Regions from separate parts of the Homo sapiens genome. Here all the other regions are linked to region 6. The links are contacts of gene promoters, found by promoter capture Hi-C in blood cells and fetal thymus (Javierre and others, 2016). All regions are on one chromosome and are shown on one strand. The core of a region is centred on a gene start or on the middle of the fragment in contact, and the rest is flanking DNA. Distances in the headings are between cores, read along the strand shown.

The links. Contacts are between HindIII fragments. The CHiCAGO score rates a contact against its expected background, and 5 or more counts as called.
Region 1: a contact is called between a fragment that was not itself captured here and the fragment with the promoter of TMED4 in region 6, in 2 of 17 cell types (M0 macrophages and naive CD8 T cells). The highest score is 5.5, in M0 macrophages.
Region 2: a contact is called between the fragment with the promoter of AEBP1 here and the fragment with the promoter of TMED4 in region 6, in 17 of 17 cell types (naive B cells, total B cells, fetal thymus and 14 more). The highest score is 11.8, in naive B cells.
Region 3: a fragment that was not itself captured here is called in contact with the fragment with the promoter of TMED4 in region 6 in 12 of 17 cell types (total B cells, naive B cells, monocytes and 9 more); the score reaches 10.2 in total B cells.
Region 4: a contact is called between the fragment with the promoter of POLM here and the fragment with the promoter of TMED4 in region 6, in 13 of 17 cell types (naive B cells, fetal thymus, monocytes and 10 more). The highest score is 11.1, in naive B cells.
Region 5: a contact is called between the fragment with the promoter of SNHG15 here and the fragment with the promoter of TMED4 in region 6, in 5 of 17 cell types (fetal thymus, monocytes, neutrophils and 2 more). The highest score is 9.8, in fetal thymus.
Region 7: a contact is called between a fragment that was not itself captured here and the fragment with the promoter of TMED4 in region 6, in 3 of 17 cell types (naive CD8 T cells, monocytes and total CD8 T cells). The highest score is 7.9, in naive CD8 T cells.

Annotation. Positions count from the first base shown.
Region 1 is chr7:44,936,444-44,939,878 of GRCh38, reverse strand. No RefSeq gene overlaps it. Among named protein-coding and RNA genes, the nearest start is that of MYO1G, 41 kb to the left of the region's middle. The HindIII fragment of the contact is 1,716 bases long and covers 898-2,613 here.
Region 2 is chr7:44,102,396-44,105,784 of GRCh38, reverse strand. AEBP1 (AE binding protein 1) reads right to left here and starts at 1,440. Exons shown (of 21, transcript NM_001129.5): 1 at 867-1,440. The coding sequence starts at 1,119. The HindIII fragment of the contact is 6,426 bases long and covers 1-3,389 here.
Region 3 is chr7:44,919,791-44,923,212 of GRCh38, reverse strand. It overlaps the pseudogene MRPS23P1. Among named protein-coding and RNA genes, the nearest start is that of PURB, 36 kb to the right of the region's middle. The HindIII fragment of the contact is 3,245 bases long and covers 1-2,932 here.
Region 4 is chr7:44,081,280-44,084,529 of GRCh38, reverse strand. It overlaps POLM (DNA polymerase mu), which reads left to right and starts at 2,000. Exons shown (of 11, transcript NM_013284.4): 1 at 2,000-2,279. The coding sequence starts at 2,092. RefSeq lists a silencer at 1,435-2,014 and an enhancer at 1,726-2,226. The HindIII fragment of the contact is 8,170 bases long and covers 1-3,250 here.
Region 5 is chr7:44,984,912-44,988,113 of GRCh38, reverse strand. It overlaps SNHG15 (small nucleolar RNA host gene 15), which reads left to right and starts at 1,418. Exons shown (of 3, transcript NR_152597.1): 1 at 1,418-1,589. It overlaps SNORA9 (small nucleolar RNA, H/ACA box 9), which reads left to right and starts at 2,604; the gene lies at 2,604-2,736. RefSeq lists enhancers at 825-1,572, 1,608-1,727, 1,573-2,319 and a silencer at 2,846-3,026. The HindIII fragment of the contact is 12,531 bases long and covers 1-3,202 here.
Region 6 is chr7:44,580,880-44,584,089 of GRCh38, reverse strand. TMED4 (transmembrane p24 trafficking protein 4) reads left to right here and starts at 1,859. Exons shown (of 5, transcript NM_182547.4): 1 at 1,859-2,043; 2 at 2,267-2,367; 3 at 2,516-2,641; 4 at 2,851-2,997. The coding sequence starts at 1,884. RefSeq lists an enhancer at 1,376-1,485 and silencers at 1,576-1,735, 2,136-2,235. The HindIII fragment of the contact is 9,471 bases long and covers 1-3,210 here.
Region 7 is chr7:45,030,390-45,033,785 of GRCh38, reverse strand. The region is part of intron 1 of CCM2 (CCM2 scaffold protein); the gene reads right to left. Among named protein-coding and RNA genes, the nearest start is that of CCM2, 32 kb to the right of the region's middle. The HindIII fragment of the contact is 3,779 bases long and covers 114-3,396 here.

The DNA of each region.
Region 1 (3,435 bases), core at 506-3,005, 360 kb before region 6:
TAACAAAGCAATTTGACTTTTATAGATTAACCTGGTATCCTACAACCTTGCTATAATTGTTTATTAGCTTCAGGAGGTTTTGTTTTTGTTTTTGTTATTCACTACATAGACAATCATGCCATCTTTAAAAAGTTTTATCTCTTTTTTAGTTTTTATTATTTATTTATTTTGAGATGGAGTCTTGCTCTGTTGCCCAGGCTGGAGTGCAGTGGCACAATCTCAGCTCACTACAACCTCCACCTGCCAGGTTTAGGCGATCCTCCCACCTCAGCCTCTGGAGTAGCTGAGATTACAGGCGCCCGCCACCACGCCTGGCTCATTTTTGTGTTTTTAATAGAGATGGGGTTTCACCATGTTGGCCAGGCTGGTCTTGAACTCCTCACCTCAGGTGATCTGCTCACCTTGGCCTCCCAAATTGCTGGGATTACAGGCGTGAGCCATTGCACCCGGCCTTATTTCTTTTTTAAAAAGTCATCCTGGCTGGGCACGGTGGCTCATGCCTGTAATTCCCAGGACTTTGAGAGGCTGAGGTGGATGGATCACGAGATCAGGAGTTCAAGACCAGCCTGGCCAACATAGTGAAACCCCATCTCTACTAAAAATACAAAAAAAAATTAGCAGGGCATGGTGGTGGGCACCTGTGGTCCCAGCTACTTGGGAGACTTAGGCAGGAGAATCGCTTGAATCCGCGAGCCAGAGGTTGTGGTGAGCTGGGATCACACCACTGCACTCCAGCCTGGGTGACACAGCAAGACGCTCAAAAAAAAAAAGTCACCCTGTATACCTTTTGTTTTCTTTCCTTATCTTATTGCATTAGCCAGGTTGCCCAGTACAATGTTGAAAAAGAGTGGTGAGAGGGAACATCCTTGCTTTGTTCCTGATCTTAGTGGGAAAGCTTCAAGTTCCTCATCATTAAATATGGACAATACTCATTTCTATTTCTGCCATCCATTGGGTCTACAGATATCATTAAGTTTAAAACGTGACACAAACCACAGCTTGTGTTGATTAATTCCCCTGAACATTACACATTTCTTATATACTAGATTCTTTCCAACAAATGCATTGTATTTTTAAATTTTGTGTCTTCAAAAGGTCAAATTGATCTTTCTATTTCTTTTGTCACATGAATGTACATGCACAAATATATACGTGCAACATGTATATATGATCATATAGACATATATAGCAACATAGATACAGATGTTACATACATATAACCAGTTTAGCTGAAGAGCTCTAGCTCATCGGCCCCTAATGCAGAGTTTCTGGCAAGTAACTAAGTATGTCTATTCCTGACATCTATGAACAATTTGGGAAATTACCGAAGGTGGGTTTGCAGAACACTGGGCCCACTACAGCACCACCTTCCTCAACCTCCACCTGCTCCTCTCTGATTTGTGGTCCACAGAGGTTTCTCTGGGTCTTTGCTCATTCCCCTTTCCCCAGAGCACAGCTGTCTTGCAAGCACCTCTGGAAACACCTAGGAGAGAGAGTCACAGCCCATTTCTGTGGACATGCCCCAGGGTCACCTTTCTTCAATGGGTCCCACTTTGTGACGTGGCTCAGATTCAGGAGTGGAGAAAGAAGTCTCCAGTTTCCATTTTAGTAACTCAGAGCAGGGTAAGAGGTTTTGTTTTTACAGTGTAGATAAGACCCTGGTAGGCTGCCCAACTCACTCAGTCCTAGGATTGATACCATAATTATTTTAGTCATTGTTCTAATGGCTTCTAATAATGCTTTTATTGGTACAATACCTGCTAAGAAATTTATAGCAGATGGTATCATTAGGTAATGGGAACACACATATCTATAAGTCATGGCCATTGCTTTTTGGTCATTTTCACTAATCCAGACAATTAAGAAAATCCACTTTTATACTTATTCAGAGGTCCCCACTTCTGCTCCCACTGCCGTTCAGCTCAGACTTGTGTCTTGGAGAAGAGTTAATGTGCATGTGTCTGTGAGGGGTGATATGCCATCTCATCCCCTCTATCTTTTTTCCAATGTCTTACCCCCTCAGGGTCTCTCATCCACCTGGGGCCCAGCAATGTTGTGGCTGAAGAGGGGATGATTCTGGTTCCTGCCCAGTTGTGCCCCATCTGTCACTGACGCTGTTAGAGGGTGGGAGATGCAGCAGTCTCAGCTGGCAGGGGGCTTGCTATGTGACCATGCACAGTTTTATTTGGGGGGCTGACCTCTCTCATGTGGAGGACGCCCTTCACCAGAATAGAGCAGCCACGGCCCATGGGCCCCTTGAGACGTGTGTGCCTCCACCTCTTTTCTGTTTGGGGAGCCCTTTGCTCAGCCTGGAGGCCCTCCATGGGGCAGCAGGTCCTCTGCTCCACTGGCTACACCCTATGCTCCATCATTTTAGGCCAGAGAAACACCAGGGCCTCTCCTGTGCCCAGTGAGAAATGCAAGACTCAAATCGGAGTAAGTCCTTGTCTCTAGGGAACAGTACTTCCCATTCTCTTTGCACTCTGCCTCGATTCTTACCCTGCTCCTGCCTTCAGAAGTCTCCAGATGATCAATGCCTGTAAGTCTCACCCTCCTGACTTCATGGGACAGGTGTGCAGGGGAGGGCTGGGAGAAGGGCATTATTCTCAAGCTTCTAGAAAGTCTTTTCTTTGACTCTACTCTCACAGGAGCCTTCTTATAGAATGTAGTTACAAATCTCAAATCGATTTTGGAATTTCTAAAATATGGAGACAGCCTGGAGTATTGACATGGCATTCATGAATGTGCTGGGGAGACTGCCAAGCACCAGCCCAGAGAAAACAGCCTTCAGAATTTCAACTTATTTTGTCACATGTAATTTTATAACACAACCACAAAGTTTCCTTGGCTATTCAAAGAATCAATTCAGTAATTTTTTTTTACATTTATTTATTTTTCTATTTGCAAGACAGTTGTCTGTTAAGAGATGACGCTCACAAAACTTTTAAACTATGATAGATTTCAGTAAAATCACTGAATACTAAAATATAATAAAACATTAGGGCCAGGCACAGTGTCTTACGCCTGTAATCCCAGCTACTCAGGAGGCTGAGGCAGAAGAATCACTTGAACCCAGGAGGCAGAGTTTGCAGTGAGCTGAGATTGCACCATTGCACTCCAGCCTGGGGAACAAGAGCGAGTCCTCATCTCAAAAAAAAAAATTAGACTACAAAAAGCAATCAAACTCGATGCTCCCAGATAGCCTGCTCTCTGACAGTGAGTGAAGGAGCCCAGAATGTCTCCTCTAAGCTGCAGACCCCACAGTTTACTCTTTCCAAGCAATGAGCTTATTGGAGCTTATTTGAAATAAAAGGCTGCTGCATGTTCCTGTGGTCACCCACAATTCTCAGAATGACTGCCAGGTCATGGTGCAGCCATGACAGTGCTGTGACCCTGACTCTGTTCTGTGAGGTTGCATGAGGGACACCAGGTCAG
Region 2 (3,389 bases), core at 191-2,690, 480 kb after region 6:
AAGTTTGGCAGAAACACAGGAAAGCTACCAAATGCAGACAGCCAGGGGACGCAGGGCTGCTAGAGCGGTGCCCCAGAGCCAGGAGAGCAAGCCTGGAAGGAGAGCCAGAGGCAGGAGGGGCACAGGCAGCCCAGGGTGTGGGAAGCAGCCAGGAAAGATCTAGAGCTGGGGTGGCAGGGGAGGGGCTGCTGACATCAGGAATGTTGGATGGTGCCTTGGAATCTCCTGGGAGACAGGGATCACAAGACCCTCTGCCACCTTCCAGAGGGCCACGATGAAAACAGCTAAGATTTACTGACAACTGATTATGCAAGAGGCCGTGGGTTAAATGCTTCAGTGATGCATCACCTCATCTAATTTCCTGTACTAATGTAGGACCACCCATTGCTCACCACCACCTGAAGCCCTGTGCTCACCACCACCTGAAACTCTCTCACCTACGTGAGACCTCCTGGAGTAGGAGGGCAAAGGCAGGAGGGAGGGACGACGTGAAGCTGTGCCACCAACAGGGAGAGTGGTCCCATTAGTATGGCAGGGGGTGACACAGCACAGTCCCCTGTGGCTCAAGCCTAGTACCTGTCGCGTACTGGAGGAATGGGGATAAGCGACCCGTACAACCACAGCACCAACCCTAGAGCCACCGGCCCCCAAAAGCGGCCCTGCCGCCCGGGTGCTGGATGTGCCTCCACGCCAGCGCTGACCTCGGCCTAGCACAGGGTCCCTCCAGGCATCTGGGCTCGCGTGCGCATTAGTAAGCCAGCCATTCCTCCCCTAGCAGACTGGGGAGTGGCCAGACCCTACCGAATCCCCCTGTTCCCACCTGAGATGCCAGCCCCCCACACCCCCGCCCTGCCCTGGGCTCTTACCTTCTGCGGCCGTCCCTGGCCGCTTCCCTGGCTTGCCCCCCGCCTGGGCTTTTCGGACCCGCGGGGTGGGCTCGGGAGGCGGCGGGGCCTCCACGTCGTCCTCCCGGGGCTCAGGTTCTAGCTCTGACAGGAAGCCCTCGAGGAACTCCTCGATCTCGTCGTCGGTCAGCACCGTCTGCGGGCGCCCTCCAGGGCACAGGGCCAGCAACGCCAGGAGGCAGCTGAGCAGGGGCGCCCCGCGCACGGCCGCCATGGCCGCGGCACGCGCGGGGGGCTCCGGGGAGGGCGCGGGGGGTCAGGGGCTCTGGGTCTCTGGGAAAGGGCGGAGAGGGGATCGAGACGGGTGAGGGAATCCAGGAAGGGGCGGGAGAGAGGATGGGGTGAGCGAGGGAATCCGGGAAAGGGAGGGAGAGTGGATTAGGGTGGGCGAGGGGACCCGGGAAGGGGTGCTGGGGGGCTCCGAAGCCAGAGGGGCTCAGGGGTGGTCGGGGCGCTCCGAGGTCCTGGCGGCTAATAGGCGCTCCGGCCCCGCGTGGCGCACTCCCGCGCGGATAGCCGTCTCCAAAGCGCTGGCGGGGCCCGGGGCGGGGGCGCCGGGGCTTCCGGAGCCGGCTCCCCACCCCCGGGGAGGAGGAGGAGGAAGAGAAGGAGGAGCCGAGAGTGGACGGAGGGGCTGCGGGGGGGCGGGGGGCGGGGGGCGGGGGGCTAGGGGCGGGGCAGGCGGGCGGGCGCTGGCGGCGAGCGTCCCAAGCCCGGAGACTTGCGCCTAGGACAGAGGGGCAGGGGGCGGGGCGACTGGGAAGACAGAGGGCCTGAGGGAAGGAAAGGTGGTGGGGAGGGCCTGGGGTGCGGGTCTGAGGGGGCCGACATCCCTCCTCCTTCTGCCCTAGGCACCCCCCTTAAGGCGGGACCCCGAGTCCACCGGGGCTCTGAGCCCTCCGCGGGTGACCAGGAACCCTGGACGGAAAGCCGTGGTGTCAGGCCTCTGAGACCTCTCTCAATTCGGAGGGCCACAGAAAGGCCACCCCATCCTTCCCAGGCTCTGGAGCCTCTGCCCATGGGCCCTGCTGCATCCCAGCGTCAATTCATTCAGTCATCCTACCAACCTCTTCAGGTCGGTGTGGGGCCGGGCCCCGTGCTGGGCCCCAGGGAGGGACAGCACAGTGGGAACTCACTTTCCAGCCAGGAGGCAGGTGCAAAACTGCCCTCAGAGTGGCCAGCTGCCCCGCTGGGGGTAGGAGTCCCATGTAAGGGCATGCCATCCCTCCCCTCCGGGTCCCAACGTGGACAAATAGCCATTTATCACCTTCTTCTTACCAGAACTCATTTTTTAAAAAGTGTCTACCATACCTCCAGCTGCCACATGGACCCAGAGGGCCCAGAGGACCCAGAAGGCAGGTGGATTGAGTGTCAACTGATCCCAGGATCCATCAGGGATGTGCACCTTGGTGCCTGGTGTTTGCCATAAGGCTTCTCCAGGGCAAATGTTGGCTGCCCTACAACGGCCATCAACAGGCAGAGTGGTCCCATTAGTATGGCAGGGCGTGACACAGCACAGTCCCCCGTGACTCAAGCCTAGTCCCTGTCTCATACTGGAGGAATGGGGAGCTAAGGACAGAGCTCCGAGGACATTCCCCCTTAAAGGAATGAGGACACAAGAGAAAGCTCACAGGTAGTCCATGGGCCAAGTGCAGAGGCAGACAGCCCTAAGCCACGATTGTCTGCGGGGTTTGGCCCCAGTGAAGTAGTCAGGTAGGGAAGCCTAGGAGCCCCTGGGATGATTGACAGGGCAGAGTTTGGACCTGGGGTCAAAAGGAAAGAGGAAAAGTGGGTCAGGAAGCACCTGGGTCCCCAGAGCAGCCCCGAGTGAGTTGGAGCAGGCAGCAGCCGGGGAGGCCACAGTGGAGGCTGCTGGGCCTGGGATACATGCCACCCCCTGGGAGCAGGACCACAAGGAGGCCTTGCCTCCTCTCACACCTGGTCCTGCCAAGACCCTGCCTTTGCTTTCTCACTGCATCTCCTTGAAAAAGCAGTGGGACTGTGTCAGGTTCTGGCTCTACCTCCCAGGCACCACATCTCGGCAGGTAGCCTCAGTGCCGTCCACCTGTGTCCCTGTTCTCCTTGTCGTTCATACAGGATCATGCATGTGCTGTGCCTAGCACACATTCTTGGCACTCACACTGCTGCCTTTTAGCTCTCATCATTTGCCCTCAGAGATCAACCTGAGCTGTGCCCACTGGGGCGCTCAGAGCAGACCCTGAGCCCCAACACCCAGGCTCCCTGTGCACCTGAGCCTGCCTCTGCCTGCCACGTGCCCCCAGGCCAGTCCTGGTGGCAGCAAGGATCCGCAAGCTCTCCCCTTTCCTCATCCTCTGCAAAGCTCTGAATCATCTTTCTCAAAACTTGTTCTGGGAATTTGCTCCGTTGCCCCAGTTGAGCATGTCAAGCCCGGCGGCCCAAGGCTGGGGTGAAGCAGCGTGGCACGTCACTTCCCTGGGAACAACTCACACATGGATTGGATTT
Region 3 (3,422 bases), core at 61-2,560, 340 kb before region 6:
TCCCTTCGTTTCCCATAAGGGATACTTTTAGTTAATTTAATATCTATAGAAACAATGCTAATGACTGGTTTGCTGTTAATAAATATGTGGGTAGGCCGGGCGCGGTGGCTCACGCCTGTAATCCCAGCACTTTGGGAGGCCGAGGCGGGTGGATCATGAGGTCAGGAGATCGAGACCATCCTGGCTAACAAGGTGAAACCCCGTCTCTACTAAAAATACAAAAAATTAGCCGGGCGCGGTGGCGGGCGCCTGTAGTCCCAGCTACTCGGGAGGCTGAGGCAGGAGAATGGCGTGAACCCGGGAGGCGGAGCTTGCAGTGAGCCGAGATTGCGCCACTGCAGTCCGCAGTCCGGCCTGGGTGACAGAGCGAGACTCCGTCTCAAAAAAAAAAAAAAAAAAAAAAAATAAATATGTGGGTAAATCTCTGTTCGGGGCTCTCAGCTCTGAAGGCTGTGAGACCCCTGATTTCCCACTTTACACCTCTATATTTCTGTGTGTGTGTCTTTAATTCCTCTAGCACCACTAGGTTAGGGTCTCCCCGACCCAGCTGGTCTCGGTAAAAAAGAAACAGGTGAAATTGATTGTAATCATATTTTATTTAAAATGGTTGATCTAAAACATTATAATTTCAATGTATCATCAATATGAAAATGATCGATACTACATTTTACATTGTGTGCACTATGTCTTTGACGGCCAGTGTACTCTTTACACTTACTGTACTTCTCCAGTGGACTCGCTGCACTTCAAGTGCTCAGAGCACGTGTGGGTGCCAGAGTGGACAGCATAGAGCTTCGGAGGCCTGCAGGTACTCCCCAAATATTTCAAGAATGAATGAATGAATGAACGTAGGCATGAACTGTGGATTGCCACAAGTTCTCACTGGGACCATGTCCTATACCCACCTCATCAGGGACGGCCACCAGGGGGCGCGAGAGTGCTAGTTGACGGGCTAGTTGACAGGCTCCACATGGCATTCTTGCTGAGAGCCCAGGCCTGGGGTGGGGTGTCCCGGGGCCACAGGTCTCACAGGACTCAGCAACCCAGGGCGTTGAGTCCCCATGCCCCCCACCACCACCCCCAACCATCTGCTGCCGGCCACTTTTCCATGCTTCAGCCATCCCCTGGTGAGGAAGGGGAGGAGGGCTGGCACTGGTCAGGCAAGGAGCAGGTCTGAGGGTCTCAGAGAGGGATCCCTCTGGCTGCTCAGTAAGGCACAAGCCCCTTGACTCATCAAGTGTGAGGGTCCCTGCAGAGCCGACATAATAGCTGGGAAGAAAGGCCGCTCTATGGCAGAGTCAACCCTCTTTGTGGCTCTGGCTCAACAGTGGAGAGACACCCTCCTCCCTTTTCAGGGCGGCTCTCCCACTGGGGCACCTCCCTCACTGATGCTATCTCCTCGACAACCACTGGTTTACAGCCAGCCTGTCTCTAGCCCCATTTCTCTTCCAGGTTGTCACCTCTTGATCTAGCCCGCCCATTCAGTAGGTAAGAACACCCAACCCCCACCAATCTCTCCCCACACATGCCTTCTGCGCTTCCCGGAGGTTCCTGCCAGTGGCCCTTGAGTTGCTCCTTCAGGTGCTCCCAGTAGGTGCTCCCCCAGGTGCTCTTCCTAGATGTTAGATGCACCTCCTTTTTTTTCCTCTTCCTTTGTTTTTAAGCACCTAGGGAATTTTATTTATTTATTTACTTATAGATGGAGTCTTGCTCTGCTGTCCATGCTGGAAAGCAGTGGCATGATCTCAGGTCACTGCAACTGCTGCCTCCCAGGTTCAAGTGATTCTCCTGCCTCAACCTCCAGAATCGCTGGGATTACAGGCATGTGCCACTACGCCTGGCTAATTTTTTTGTTTTGTTTTGCTTTTGCTTTTTTTTTTTTTTTTTTTTGAGACAGAGTTTCGCTCTTGTTGCCCAGTCTGGAGTGCAATGGTGCGATCTCAGCTCACTGCAACCTCCGACTTCCAGGTTCAAGCGATTCTCCTGTCTCAGTCTCCTGAGCAGCTGGGATTACAGGCGCCCACCAATATGCCCAGCTAATTTTTGGTATTTTTAGTAGAGAAGGGGTTTCACCATGTTGGCCATGCTGGTTTCAAACTCCTGACTTCAAGTGATCCACCCGCCTTGGCCTCCCAAAGTGCTGGGATTATAGGCATGAGCCACCGCACCATGCCATTTTTTTGTATTTTTAGTAGAGAAGGGGTTTCACCATGTTGGCCAGGCTGGTTTCAAACTCCTGACCTCAGGTGATCCACCCACCTCGGCCTCCCAAAGTGCTGGGATTACAGGCATGAGCCACCACACCCGGCCATTTTTTTGTATTTTTAGTAGAGACAGGGTTTCACCATCTTGGCCAGGCTGGTCTCAAAACTCCTGACCTCAAGTGATCTGTCCGCCTGGGCCTCCCAAAGTGCTGGGATTACAGGTATGAGCTACCACGCCCAGCTGGAGTTCTTTATTTAATGATGTCCTACCATGAAAGTTCACATAACTCCTTTTTTTTTCAGTTTTTATTATTCTTTTATATAAATCCTCTGGATCATAACTGCTTCTGTCAAACCATGATACCGAGCTTTATGACAACTCAGAAGTAAGGACTAAGAGAAGGCAAATATAATGCCTTCAAGATCAAGAGACGTTTATGTAGTTCAACTGTTAGAAACAGCTCAACATTGAGCTAGTGAGTAGAGTGTGTATGTCAGTATCCACAATATACAAACCCTTCACGGAGCTGCAAGACCTTTTAACTGTCCTTCAGGTGCTTCCAAATGCTGGTCCTGTGGAACTTCTTTCTTTCTGAGGCTGGTTTTCTTTCAACACAGTTTGGGGTCTGACAATCATGTGTTCAGATTTCCAGGAAACGTGACTACCTTCCTGTTGAGTCCTTGTTTCTCCTACGCATCTTAAAATGACACTTTCTGCCAATAAAGCTTTCCTTGTTTCTACAAATAACTTCTCTTCATCTGTTTCTTTAAGTTTCTGCAGCTCAATATACTTCACAAAGCATTGACAGGTAGGCTTGAAGCTTGGATTGAACAGATCAAAAGCTTTTGACCAGATTTGTAGGCTGAATAGAATTTTGCTCCAATGGGCTGGGCGCGATGGCTTATGCCTGTAATCCCAGCTCTTTGGGAGGCCAGGGCAGGTGGATCACCGGAGGTCAGGAGTTCGAGACCAGCCTGGCCAACATGACAAAACCCCGTCTCTACTTAAAATACAAAAATTAGCTGGGTGTGGTGGCGTAAGTAGCTGGTGTAATCCCAGCTACTCGGGAGGCTGAGGCAGGAGAATCACTTGAAATCAGGAGGCGAAGGTTGCAGTGAGCCGAGATCATGCCATTGTACTCCAGCCTGGGCAAAAAGAGCAAAACTTCATCTAAAAAAAAAAAAAAGAATTTTGCTCCAATGGGATCCTCATGATAC
Region 4 (3,250 bases), core at 751-3,250, 500 kb after region 6:
CACTCAGAGGGCCTGGCTGATTTCTAAGCTAGGCAGTTTCTTCCACTGTCATTTGGATGAGATTCCTTGCACAAACATTTTTGCACAGTTGCCCAGTGTTTTAAGTATTCAGGTCTCATAGTCTTAAAAACTGCCTCTGCCTTCCCAGGAGAGAACAAGGGCTCCAAGGGGAGCCCAGGTGCTCTGGCCAGACAGAGGACATTAAAAGGAACAGAAATGGTTTTAGACAGCTAGAGGGATCTGCTCAGGGGATATTTGGGCAGAGCCTCCTCCTTGAGAAGGGTAGGAGCCAGATCCACAGACGAAGACCCTTAGAGCCTGCCCATCCCTGCTGGCACAAGGGGAGGATGGGGAGAGAGGGACCATACGCAGGCCTCCTGGCTTCTGTATGTGGGTCCTGAGGCCCAGGAAGCTCTACAGCCCTGAAGAGGTAGATGAATTAGGAGGCTGGGAGATGGTGTAGGAGGTCAAGAGGATGCCTGGGCTGAGCCATCTCCCCCACTCCCCTCAGCCCTGTGCTCTGAGTGCAGAGATGGGGAAGAGCCAGCCCACTAAAGATGTCAGAGAGGAGCCAAAGAAAAAGGATAGGTGCTCAAGGAGTCTGGGGCTCAAGACTGAGGACGATGGGGCAGTGATGAGGAGAGGCATGTGGAAGGGGGTTGCATCTGATCTGGTGTCCCATCAGTTAGGCTGAGCAGTGCCACACTACCGTAACAGAGGTTACAAATGGAGTATATCTAAATAAGATAGACAGAAGACTTGATATTATCAAGACATCAGATTTCCCCAGCTTGATCTATAGATTCAATGCAATCCCAATCTTGGGAAAGGAATTGCTGGATCAATGTGTATTATTTTGTTTTCATTTTGTTGGATGTGGTTGCCACATTGGCTTCCACAGTCCTTCCTATGGATTGCCAATTACCTCGCACCTTCAACATGTGTGGTCAATTTTTTTGAATGTTTGATAAACCCACAACTGAAGATATTCTCATTTAGGTATTCTGTAACGACTGGACAGGTTGGGCACTCTGGTCATAAATTTATTGACCAGGATTTCTTCTAAGAATCATCTACGTGAGTTTTTTTGCTAATTTTTCTATTAAATTATTGTCTTTTTATCTATGGACAATTTGATAAGATTATCATGAGATAATCTTAATTCCAAAATATCTCACACTTTATCCCAGTTTATCTTCTGACTCTAATTTTTAATCAGATTTAAAATTTGTCTGTAGTCCAGTTTATCATTCTTTTCCTTTAGTGTTTCCAAGTTTATTGTGATATTTAGATCATAAAAACATTCACCGACTTTTTTCCAGTACGTTGTTGGTTTCCTTTTTAGATGGAAATGTTTGACCCATCTGGAATTTATTTTGGTGTTAAGGAATGAGGAAGGGCACCAACTTCTATTTTTCCAAATGGCCTGCCAGTTGTCCTAATGCCATTCGACTGAAAAATCTTCCCGCGTGTTTGAAGCGACCGCCCCACCAGCGCATTGGAAACCCGCGTGTCGGTCCTGCGCCCGCCGGCTTCCGTGTGACAGTCCCGAGCGCAGAGGGATCGGGCACAGCCCGCACGCGTCCGCCCCGAGCCGCCGGCTCAACCCTAGACCCAGCCCCGGCGCCAAGGACACAGCCCACCCCGCTCCGCCCGGGCCTAGGTCCCAGTTCACCCTCCCTAGCCGGGGACGCCCCCTTGACCCCGCCTCCTCCACCCCCTCCAACACCCTCCCCGCCCCGCTCCAGCCCAGCCTCTCCTCCCGGAGGCCAATGGGGCCGAACAGCGCTTTCCGAGACATTAATTTAAATAAAAGGCGGGTCCTCTGCCGTTATTTGCATGGAGGCGGGTCTTCCGGAGCGGCCGGGACACCCAATCCTGTAGGAGCCCGGACCCTCCCCAGCGCTCCGACTGGCCCAAGTAGCGAGCCCCACGGAGAGGCCTCATTTGCATAGGGCGGGGCCACGTCCTCTTCCAGCCGGCGGCCGCCCGCCCGCCCACCCGCTTCCGTCAGCCTCACTGGGGCTTCCTTCCGTCTCGCTCGGAGTTTCCCTCTGCGTTCGCTCCGCGCTGCTGGAGGCTGTCGTCCCAATGCTCCCCAAACGGCGGCGAGCGCGGGTCGGGTCCCCTAGCGGCGATGCCGCTTCCTCCACGCCGCCCTCGACGCGCTTCCCGGGAGTCGCCATCTACCTGGTCGAGCCTCGCATGGGTCGCAGCCGCCGGGCCTTCCTCACAGGCCTGGCGCGCTCCAAAGGCTTCCGCGTCCTTGACGCCTGCAGGTGCGGGGCGGCGCGGCGCGGCGAGGGCTTCCATGGCACTTCTGGTTTTGGATTCTAAGTTTGCAGTGGCACTTCGTGGTCTTGTGACCTTTCCCTGAGCCTCCATCTCCTCTTCTGTAAAGGGTGCTATTAATTAGGGCGAGGCGTGTTTTAAAGGATCACTGCGAGAATCAAAACCAGAGGTCAGGGGTAATTAATAAGCAGTAGGCCGGGCGCGGTGGCTCACGCCTGTAATCCCAGCACTTTGGGAGGCCGAGGCGGGCAGATCACGAGGTCAGGAGATCGAGACCATCCTGGCTAACACGGTGAAACCCCGTCTCTACTAAAAATACAAAAAATTAACCGGAGGTGGTGGCGGGCACCTGTAGTCCCAGCTACTCGGGAGGCTGAGGCAGGAGAATGGCATGAACCTGGGAGGCGGAGCTTGCAGTGAGCCGAGATCGCGCCACTGCACTCCAGCCTGGGCGACAGAGTGAGACTCTGTCTCAAAAAAAAAAAAAAAAAAAGTCGTATTTGCTAACAGCCCTTCTGCCTGGGCTATGTCCCACCTGTGAGCGAGACTGACTTCTCAAGAGGCCCGGAGCCCGCAGGCTCCTCTGTCCTCAGGCCTGAGTAAATAACACGACTGAGAAGCTCTTGTAGGAAGGGAACCAAGAGAAGAAAAAATGGCGGCTACAGAGACAACACCCAGAGTAAGGGAGCTGGGGGTGCCCCCTAGTTTGGAGGTTGAGAGAGCAAACGAACCTGGGGCTAGTATTCCCCCACAGTTGTGTTTGATTTTTTAACATTACCAGGGATCAGTAGTGCGCCAGACCCACTCAGGAGAGGATGATAGCAGCTTAGAGTGTACAAGGCACTATCTTTGTACAACAACCCCACAGGGTGGATATGTTATCTCTGCTTTACAGAAGAGGAAATCAAAGTATAGACACGTGGCTTGCCCAAGAGCCAAACAAGTATGTGGCAGGCAG
Region 5 (3,202 bases), core at 169-2,668, 400 kb before region 6:
TGTATTTACTAGGTGCAATACATAAAATACGAGTTTCAAGCACTGCTCTGCTTTTACTTATAGAACCACGTTCTCACTTTTCTAGCCTGATCATTCAAGACCCTTGAACACATCGTCCTTATCTCCCGCTCCTCATTGAGACCCTTCCAGAACACTACAAACTTGTAATACTTAGCTGTATCACCAGCAAACCATGTCCTTCCCAATTTCAGGACCTTTCAATGTGCTTTCCTCTGCCTGGGGGTGGGTGGGGGGTGGAGAGTAGTTTCCTCCCAACCCATGAAACCTCTCCACAAAGGTAGAAGAGACAGAAAACCATTACTGAATAAGTATTAAACCAGATTGTGATGCCGTACATCACATGCAACCTGCTAAAGGCAACACAAAGACAGAAACTCACTTTTTCTATGCAGCTAAGTAGAGATAGCCCATCACATTATGTAGGTTTTGCAATTTGGAGTCAGGTGCCAAGTTAAGCCTTTGTCCTCCTAAGAAGCTGGACTCTTGGCCCTTTCGTCCCTTAACAATTGCATTTTTTTCTTTCTTTGTTTTTGAGACAGAGTCTCGCTCTGTCTCCAGGCTGGAGTGCAGTGGTGCTATGTCGGCTCACTGCAACCTCCGCCTCCCGGGTTCAAGCGATTCTCCTGCCTCAGCCTCCCGAGTAGCTGGTACTACAGGCACGCTTCACCATGCCCAGCTAATTTTTGTATTTTTAGTAGGGACAGAGTTTCACCATGTTGGCCAGGATGGTCTCGATCTCTTGATCTTGTGATCCGCCCGCCTCAGCCTCCCAAAGTGCTGGGATTGCAGGCGTGAGCCACCGCACCCAGCCAACAATTACACTTCAAGGAGATGGCTCCCAAGAAACATTCCTGAGTTGAACCTGGCCATATAAGAAAAAGACTTGAGTACATTTGGAAAGGAGAGAGGCTGAAATTTTGAAAGAAAAAGGGAGGGGGATGGTTTCTCGTCCCTTCTTTTCCTCAGGGAAAATTAAACCCTATGTATAATTTGTATTTGCCCTTCCACCTGCATCACCTTTCCCACATGCTCCCACAGGCAGGCTCCTGTTCATTCCCAAGGCTCCGTGTCCACATCGTGCTTGGATTCCGCCCGGCCCCGCCTGTGCGGCCGCACCAGGAAGGCACCACCCATTAGGGGCTCAGCGCGTCCCTCCAGGCCACGCCGTCAGGCCTCCGTCCTTTTAGCTGTAGGGGCAGATTACGTAACTCCAGCCTTCTGGTCACTAAAGGAGGGTAACAAAGGGCGGTCGAGAGACTCCACTGAGTTGACACGCAGACGCAGCCTCAGGACCCTAAACTCTACGCCCCAGCACACCCTACCAAGCGAGCGCCCGCGGCCGCGTGACGTCATCTACCCCAAACGCTGTGGCCCCGGCCACGCACGGCTTCGGGGCGGGACTACGCGGTGACGTCGAGGTGCGCGGCGCAGCGCGCGGCGTCAGTCTTGGCTGGCAGACCTGTACTCCGTACTCCGTACTTCGTAGTCGCAGCGGCGCGGTCTTCGGCAGTCTAGTCATCCACCGCCATCCTGGGCCCCACGTGTTGCCTGACCATTCCTGAGCCCAGGTAGGGGTCCTGGGGGATTGGGTTCAGTGGCGGGCGGCGTGGGAGGCTGGGCCGCAGTGAGTGGGGGCACCAGTGATTCTTGGAGACCAAGCCTTCACTACACGTGCTACTTCCTCTCAAGAGGCGGTTGAGCGCGTTCGGAACATTTTACCCGGAGGAGACTCGGGGATTACTTGATGAGTAACCTCGTGCTTCTCTTTCAGCCGAGAAGTGGGGCTTCTGCATGACCTGGGTGGACCCCAGTAGGTGGGATGGGACGTGTGGTCAGGAGGGACCTCACCGGAAGGCATGGGGTGGCGTGTAGACCTGCCGCAAGAGAGGCTGTAGAGTGGGCCAGGCGTTGCAAGGAGCTAGAGCTGGATAATGGTTCAGAGGCACAAGCTGAAGCTAACTGCGTTTGGAGCTAACTGCATTTGTTCCCTTCTAGGTGGGAGCCGTGGCTGAGGTGACGGTCTCAAAGTGGAAGAGCTTACTGTCACAGCAACTCCTTTGCAAGATGCCCCGGTAAATCACGTTGCAGAGACCCCAACTCTGCCTTCCTGGAACTAGGCCTGCGTTTTCTCTGAACCATTATTTCATGGGGAAAATGAAATCTACTTCATGTGCCTGGTCTACTTACTCCTTCAGAAGTGATTTCTGAGCCGTAAGATACATGAGAAAAAAATGAAGGGGAAAAGGCAGTATTTATATTAACTACATGATGATAAGGATGTTTCTGGTCACAGTGAAAAGCCATGCTAGAATTGTAGTGTCATAGAATAATGTGGAAGTTTAGTTCGTGTTGTCTGATCTATTTAATAATTTAATAAGGTTATCTCTTCCAAGACACCTTCCCTTCTTCCTCAGCCAGAAAGGATCTTTCCCTGAGAGTCATTAGTAGCTCTGGGCTCCTGGAACCAAGCTCAGGTGCCTAATTGAACTCTGGTCTCTTCCCACAGCCCCCAGCAGGGACTGGTGCTTAGTGAGAGTGGACTGCCAGATTCCTTGAGTGTGGGGGATTTGGGTGAATGAGGGTAGCAAGCCTCCAGCGTGCTTGGGTCTGCGGTGACCCTATGCATTCCTTCAGTGCTTGCTAGAACAGTTTTGAAACGGTTTGAGGCCTTGCCCTGCTCCATCCAGAGCAAGGTTATAGAAATTTCAGACAATGACTTCCTCCCTCCTGGATCTAGTGTCCTGGGCCTTGTATAGATCCGTGCCATCTAATGTGGTAGCCACTTGGCACACATGATTAAATTAAATTTGGAGTTTTATTTCATTTTCACACTAGCCACATTTCAGATGATCAGTAGCCACAGGTGGCCAGTGGCTACCATATTGGACCGCACAGATTAGAGGGCATTTCTGTCGCTGTGGAAGTTGTTTTGGACAATGCTGGTGTGAAAGGTGAAGGGAATCCTGAGTGTTTGCTGTGCTCCAGGCTCAGTACAAATTTTATTTTATTATACACTTAAAGCAAAAGTCTTATAAAAGTTGAGGATGAAGCCAAGAGTGGTGGTAAGGGTAGGAGTTGAAACAGTGAAGAGGAATAACAGGGAAGAGTCCTGCCCTGAGAGACTCATGGAATAGGATATTTACAAGGCAAAGCAAAGAGAACCAAAGTCTCAGTTCTGCAG
Region 6 (3,210 bases), core at 610-3,109:
TAGCAATTCTCCTGCCTCAGCCTCCCAAGTAGCTGAGATTACAGGTGTGCACCACCACACCTGGCTAATTTTTGTATTTTTAGTAGAAACAGGGTTTCACCATGTTGGCCAGGCTGGTCTCAAACTCCTGACCTCAAGTGATCCTTCCACCTCAGCCTCCCAAAGTGCTGGGATTACAGGCATGAGCCACTGTGCCCAGCCAAAATTGTTATATATTAAGAGACATATATTTGTATGAAATGCAGTAAGTAAACCTTGTTTGGACCCTAAATATCTAATGTACAAAATTTTTTAAGGCAATGGGGAAAATTAAACACATACTAGGTATTAAGTGATGTTAAATAATTTTTAAAATTTTGGTGGGTGTGATAATAGTATAAAGTCCTTATCTGTTAGAGACACACACTGACGTATTTATAGGTGAAATGACATGATGTCCAGGATTTGCTTTAATATACAGCACTTCAAAAAAAAATGCAGAAAGGGATACATGAAATGAGAAAGGCAGCAAACTGTTGTTGAAGTTGGATGATGAGTACAGCCCTCCGTTATTATCCAAGGGGGATAATTCCTGGACCCCTACGGATACCAAAATCCAGGTATGCTCAAGTTCTTTATGAAAGTTCATTGTAATTATTCTATTATATAAAAGTTTCGAAATTCTGTTGATAAAATGTATTTTTAGTAGAGACGGGGGTTTCACCTTGTTGGCCCAACTGGTCTCGAATTTCTAACCTCAGATGATCCACCAGCCTTGGCCGCCCAAAGTGTTAGCATTACAGGCGTGAGCCACCGCGCCCGCCTGGCCTTGATAAAAACAGTTTTAACCTTCCGTTGCTTCGATTCCATGCCCACTAAGTAACATTCCAGTTTGTTTTTCACTTTCAAAAGGATGTGCTGTAACTAGGGGATGTAAACAAGCTCCATGACCCTACTTATTCCAAGTTTTCGTTCCACTCTCCCACCTTTTTTTTAAGACAAGGTATCACCCTCGGTCGCCCAGGCTGGAGCGCGATCACTGCTTAATGCATCCTCGACCTCCTGGGTTCAAGCGATTCTCCTGCCTCAGCCTCCCAAGTAGCTGGGACTACATGCGCACACCACCACACCGGTTAATTTTTTGTAGAGACGGGGGTTTCACCATGTTGCCCAGGCTGGTCCCGAACTCCTGGGCTCAAGGGATCCGCCCGCCTCAGCCTCCCAGAGTGCTGGGATTACAGGTGCCAGCCACCGCGCCCGGCCCCAGCTTCTTAAAAGAATGATCCGAAACTATGGCAGCACTGGGCTTTTGGTCCCCACCCAAGAAATGCCCGCTCGCAGAGGCTCGCCGCGGCAGGCTCTCCCGACGTGACAGAGTGTGGGTCTGGATTCAGCCTCGGTTCTTACGAGTCAGATAGGTGGACACGCAAAGCAAAACATCACAGGGCTTTTTGTATTTAGCACAGAAAACACTTGTGAGCCCGAGCTGAGAACCCAAAAGGCACGCTTCAGGCCATCGTAGCCACCAAGCCTGGTCAGATTCCGTCCACCGTCTCCTTGGTGCTCCGAGACCCAAATCGCTGACTGGGGCCGAGGGCGGGCGTGACTGCGCAGGCGTGCCTCCCCTGCGAGATGCCGGAGGTAAGCTGCGGGGTAAGGGGCGAGAAATTAAGGGCGAACGTCATTGCGCATGCGCCCTCTACTCTCGTTGCGGGGGTAGGCGGGCGCCGGGCTGTGTGAGGGGGCGGGGCGCGGCAGTGTTCGGTACGGATGGAGTTGCAGGAGACGGCGAGTACATATCACTGCGCAGGCGTCCTCTTCCCCTAACTCTCAGGGTCGCTAGGGTGGCGCGCAGGCGCAGAGCGATGCGCAAATGTGCGCAGGCGCTTAGGGGCTGAGGCGCGATGGCAGGTGTCGGGGCTGGGCCTCTGCGGGCGATGGGGCGGCAGGCCCTGCTGCTTCTCGCGCTGTGCGCCACAGGCGCCCAGGGGCTCTACTTCCACATCGGCGAGACCGAGAAGCGCTGTTTCATCGAGGAAATCCCCGACGAGACCATGGTCATCGGTCAGGCGGGCTGAGGGTGGGGAGGCCCTTTGTACCCAGCTCAGCCCTCGGCGGCGCTCCCTCCTCCCGAGCCCAGCCGGGTCGCTGGCTCCCCCAGTACCTAGCCTGAGGGTGCCCCGAGGACGCCAGGCCCCCTGCCTAGAGCTCCGGGCCGCACGTCGGAGGGGGCCGGGCGGAGAGGCGGCCCACTAGGGCCGGTCGTGACTATGTGTCTGCCCCGCAGGCAACTATCGTACCCAGATGTGGGATAAGCAGAAGGAGGTCTTCCTGCCCTCGACCCCTGGCCTGGGCATGCACGTGGAAGTGAAGGACCCCGACGGCAAGGTAAGGCTGGCGTTGGCCCACGCAGCCGTTCTTCAGTGGAGCTCCCGTGGGGTGTAAAGCACTGCCTGGAGGAGGCCTCAAGGGACAGGAACTTGCACTTGGAGAGCCTGCGGTATAAAGGTGGGGCCTTCACTCACATATGTTGCAGGTGGTGCTGTCCCGGCAGTACGGCTCGGAGGGCCGCTTCACGTTCACCTCCCACACGCCCGGTGACCATCAAATCTGTCTGCACTCCAATTCTACCAGGATGGCTCTCTTCGCTGGTGGCAAACTGGTAAGAGGATTTTCTCTTTGGCTTCAGCTTAGAATCTCTCACTTGTTTCCAAATTTTGATTTATCAAGATTGTGAAACTTTGTAGCACAGTCAGAATTGGGGAGACAGATGTTGCCTTCTGCTCCACAGCCAGGGACAATAGTGGGTTCCATACCCTGGAACAGACAACTGGAGGCCCCACCACTCATACATTCCATGTTTCCTTGTAGCGGGTGCATCTCGACATCCAGGTTGGGGAGCATGCCAACAACTACCCTGAGATTGCTGCAAAAGATAAGCTGACGGAGCTACAGCTCCGCGCCCGCCAGTTGCTTGATCAGGTGGAACAGATTCAGAAGGAGCAGGATTACCAAAGGGCAAGTGCATATCTCCTTGTAATTTGAGAGGGCAGTTGACCTTTATACCCACTATACCTACTCAAGTTTCTGCTTGGGAGATCAGCTCTGCAGAGAATGGAATGAGAAGTATTGGTTTAGATAGGTTGTTTGTTTGTTGTTTTTGAGACGGAGTTTCACTCTTGTTGCCCATGCTGGAGTGCAATGCCATGATCTTGGCTCACTGCAACCTCC
Region 7 (3,396 bases), core at 754-3,253, 450 kb before region 6:
TGTATGCTTGACCACTCACTTATTCTCCCAGGCCCTATGATGTGCAAGACCCTGGCCTGGAGGTTATGGAAATACAGAGGCATTTGGCCCATGAGCCCAGCTTTTCGGAAGCTTGCATCTCCACAGACATGGATAATCTCACATCAGCCACAGGAAAATGGCTGTCCCTAAACCATTTCTGCCTGCTAGCCCCCAAAGCTCATTCCTCCTAAATGATAACTAGCTGTGTCATGGACAGTGACTGAGCTCTGAATCTGACAGTGTGGGCAAGCAGCCTGGCTCCATTTGTTGGCTCTTCTGAAAGCTGCCTGTTAGCCAAACTAGTTACTAATCTACCTATGGGAGCAACAGGAAACCAACTCTGAGACAGGAGATTTGCCAAGATCAACCTCTAACCAAGAAGCCCACACCAAATCAACAGGTCCCACAAACCACATGCAACCTACACTGTTATTTTAATGTTGATGTACAGGTCATAAAATTATAGTCTCCACACAGAATTACAGTCTGCACTGGGAAGGACTCTGGCGCTCCCCCGTCCTACAATCCCACCCCTAAAGAGAGACCCTCTGCAGTTAGGCAGTGAGAAATAGTAGGAACTCTTGCAGGGCAAGGAAACCAGGACGGCCATCTGTAGATGCCTCTTATTGCCCAAGCATCACATCAATTCTTCCCTACATCGAGCTCAGCTCTTTCCTCCTCTGGCCTTTGCTCTTTTTTTTTTTTTTTTTTTTTTTTTTTGAGACGGAGTTTTGCTCTTGTCACCAAGGCTGGATGGAGTGCAATGGCATAATCTTGGTTCACTTAACTTCTGCCTCCCCGGTTCAAGCAATTCTCCTGCCTCAGCCTCTGGAGTAGCTGGGATTACAGGCACCCACCACCATGCCTGGCTAATTTTAGTATTTTTAGTAGAGATGGGGTTTCAACATGTTGGCCAGGCTGGTCTCAAACTCCCAGCCTCAGGTGATCCACCAGCCTCAGCCTCCCAAAGTGCTGGAATTACAGGCATGAGCCATTAGGCCTGGCTGCCCTTGGCTCTTACCCAGCAGCCAGCATGGAGCTTGCACAGACTGGACAGCAATAAACGCTGGTACTGACTCTTGATGGAACGCTTGGACCAGGCTAGGCATCTGGGGAGGCCCTTTGGTTAGAGGTGACACAGCCCCTGCCCTCAACGATGTCACAGTCAAGCCGAAGTAGTAAGACCAGAGTAAAGTAACTGAAATTAAATCCACAGTAAAAACAGTCAATCAATGCTGAAGACACACAGGATGCTCCAAAGGTACACTTAGGGCTCAGCCACCCTGTTCTTAAAGCTGCTGTTCTGAGCAGCAAGAGACAAGGAGAGGAATGAACAGGAGATACAACCTTCTGACTGCTCACAGACTAGCAGAGGAGGGCGACCCCGGAACGCCAAAGATAGGGCATGCCAAGGCGCTTCAGAGGAACCTGCCCCTTCTACCTGGGCCTCCAAATCACGAACATTTTAACAAGCAGATTCTGTGGACTACTTGGAGGCAGGCGTCTCTCTGGCCCTAGTCCTTAGTCTTCAATAGCAGCTACCCTAAGTTTCTTTTTTTAATGTCTCAAATAATTTTAATTGATGGGTAAGCCTTCCTAGAAAGTGGAATATTAACACTATTAAGTAAAGAAATGCATCTTTGCACATCTGCTGCAGCCTCCCTCTGCCACTCCTACCCATTCAGCACGGAATGCAGGGTAGCTGCTGTTCTCGCTGAGGATGATGGGGCTTTTCAGAGGTAATGTTTGCTCAGCTCTCAGCTGCAGGGGGTGGTAGGAGGGACAGCCGGTGCTGGGGAAGAGCTCTCTGCTATTCCAGATACAAAACTGAACAAGAAGCCACCTCAGATTTTTGGAAAAGAAGTTGCTTTTGAACACAAAATTTAAGCTGATGGCTGGGCGCAGTGGCTCACACCTGTAATCCCAACACTTTGGGAGGCCAAGATGGGAGGATCACTAGAGTCAGGACTTCAAGACCAGCCTGGGCAACAGGGTGAGACCTCATCTTTTAAAAAAAATACAAAAATTAGAACATAAAAATTAGCAGGACATGGTGGCACACACCTGTAGTCACAGCTACTTGGGAGGCTGAAGTGGGAGGATCACTTGAGCCTAGGAAGTCAAGGCTGCAGTGAGCTGTGATCACACCACTGCACTCCAGCCTGGGTGACAGAGCAAGACCATCTCAAAACAAATAATAATTATTAATTAAAAAGAAAAAAGCTGAGCGTGGTGGCATACGTCTGTAGTCCTAGCTACCTGAAAGACTGGGGGGAGAGAATCACTTGAACCCAGGAGCTCAAAGCTGCAGTGGGCTATGACTGCCCGCTGCACTCCAGCCTAAGTGACTAAGCAAGGCCCTCTTTTTTTTTTTTTTTTTTTTGACCTGGAGTCTCACTATACAGCCCAGGCTGGAGTACAGTGGTGTGATCTCGGCTCACTGCAACCTCCACCTCCCGGGCTCAAGCGATTCTCCTGCCTCAGCCTCCCGAGTATCTGGGATTACAGGTGTGCACCACCACACCTGGCTAATTTTTGTATTTTTATAGAGATGGGGTTTCACCATGTTGGCCAGGCTGGTCTCAAACTCCTGACCTCAAGTGATCTACCCACCTCGGCCTCCCAAAGTGCTGGGATTACAGGTGTAAGCCACTGCACCTGGGCAAGGCCCTGTTCTCTTTAAATCTAAAAAAAGAAAGAAAATAAATTTAAAGGAAAGTTCTAGTTAAAAAATAAATCGAGGCCAGGTGCAATGACTCACGCCTGTAATCACACCACTTTGGGAGGCTAAGGCAGGTGGATCACCTGAGGTCAGATGTTCAAGACCACCCTGGCCAACATGGTGAAACCCCGTCTCTACTAAAAATACAAAAATTAGCCGGGCATGGTGGTGCACACCTGTAGTCCCAGCTACTCGGGAGGCTGAGGCAGGAGAATTGCTTGAACCTGGGAGGTAGCAGTTGCAGTAAGCCAAGATCACGCCACTGCACTCCAGCCTGGGTGACAGAGTGAGACTCCGTCTCAAGAAAAAAATAAATAAAATAAATTGAGGGCAGGCACAGTGGCTCACACCTGTAATTCCAACACTTTGGGAGGCCAAAGCAAGAGGATCGCTTGAGGCCAGGAGTTCAAGACCAGCCTGGACAACATAGCGAGACCTGTCTCTAAAAAATATTAAAAATTAGCCTGTAGTTCCAGGCACTCAGGAGGCTGAGGTGGGAGGATCACTTGAGCTTGGGAGGTTGAGGCTGCAGTGAGTTGTGATCACACCACTGCACCCAGCCTAGGAAACAGAGTGAGACCCTGTCTGGAAGGAACGAGGGAAATAATTAAATGGTTTAGCATATTTTTAATGTACAGAATCAGGATTCCAGT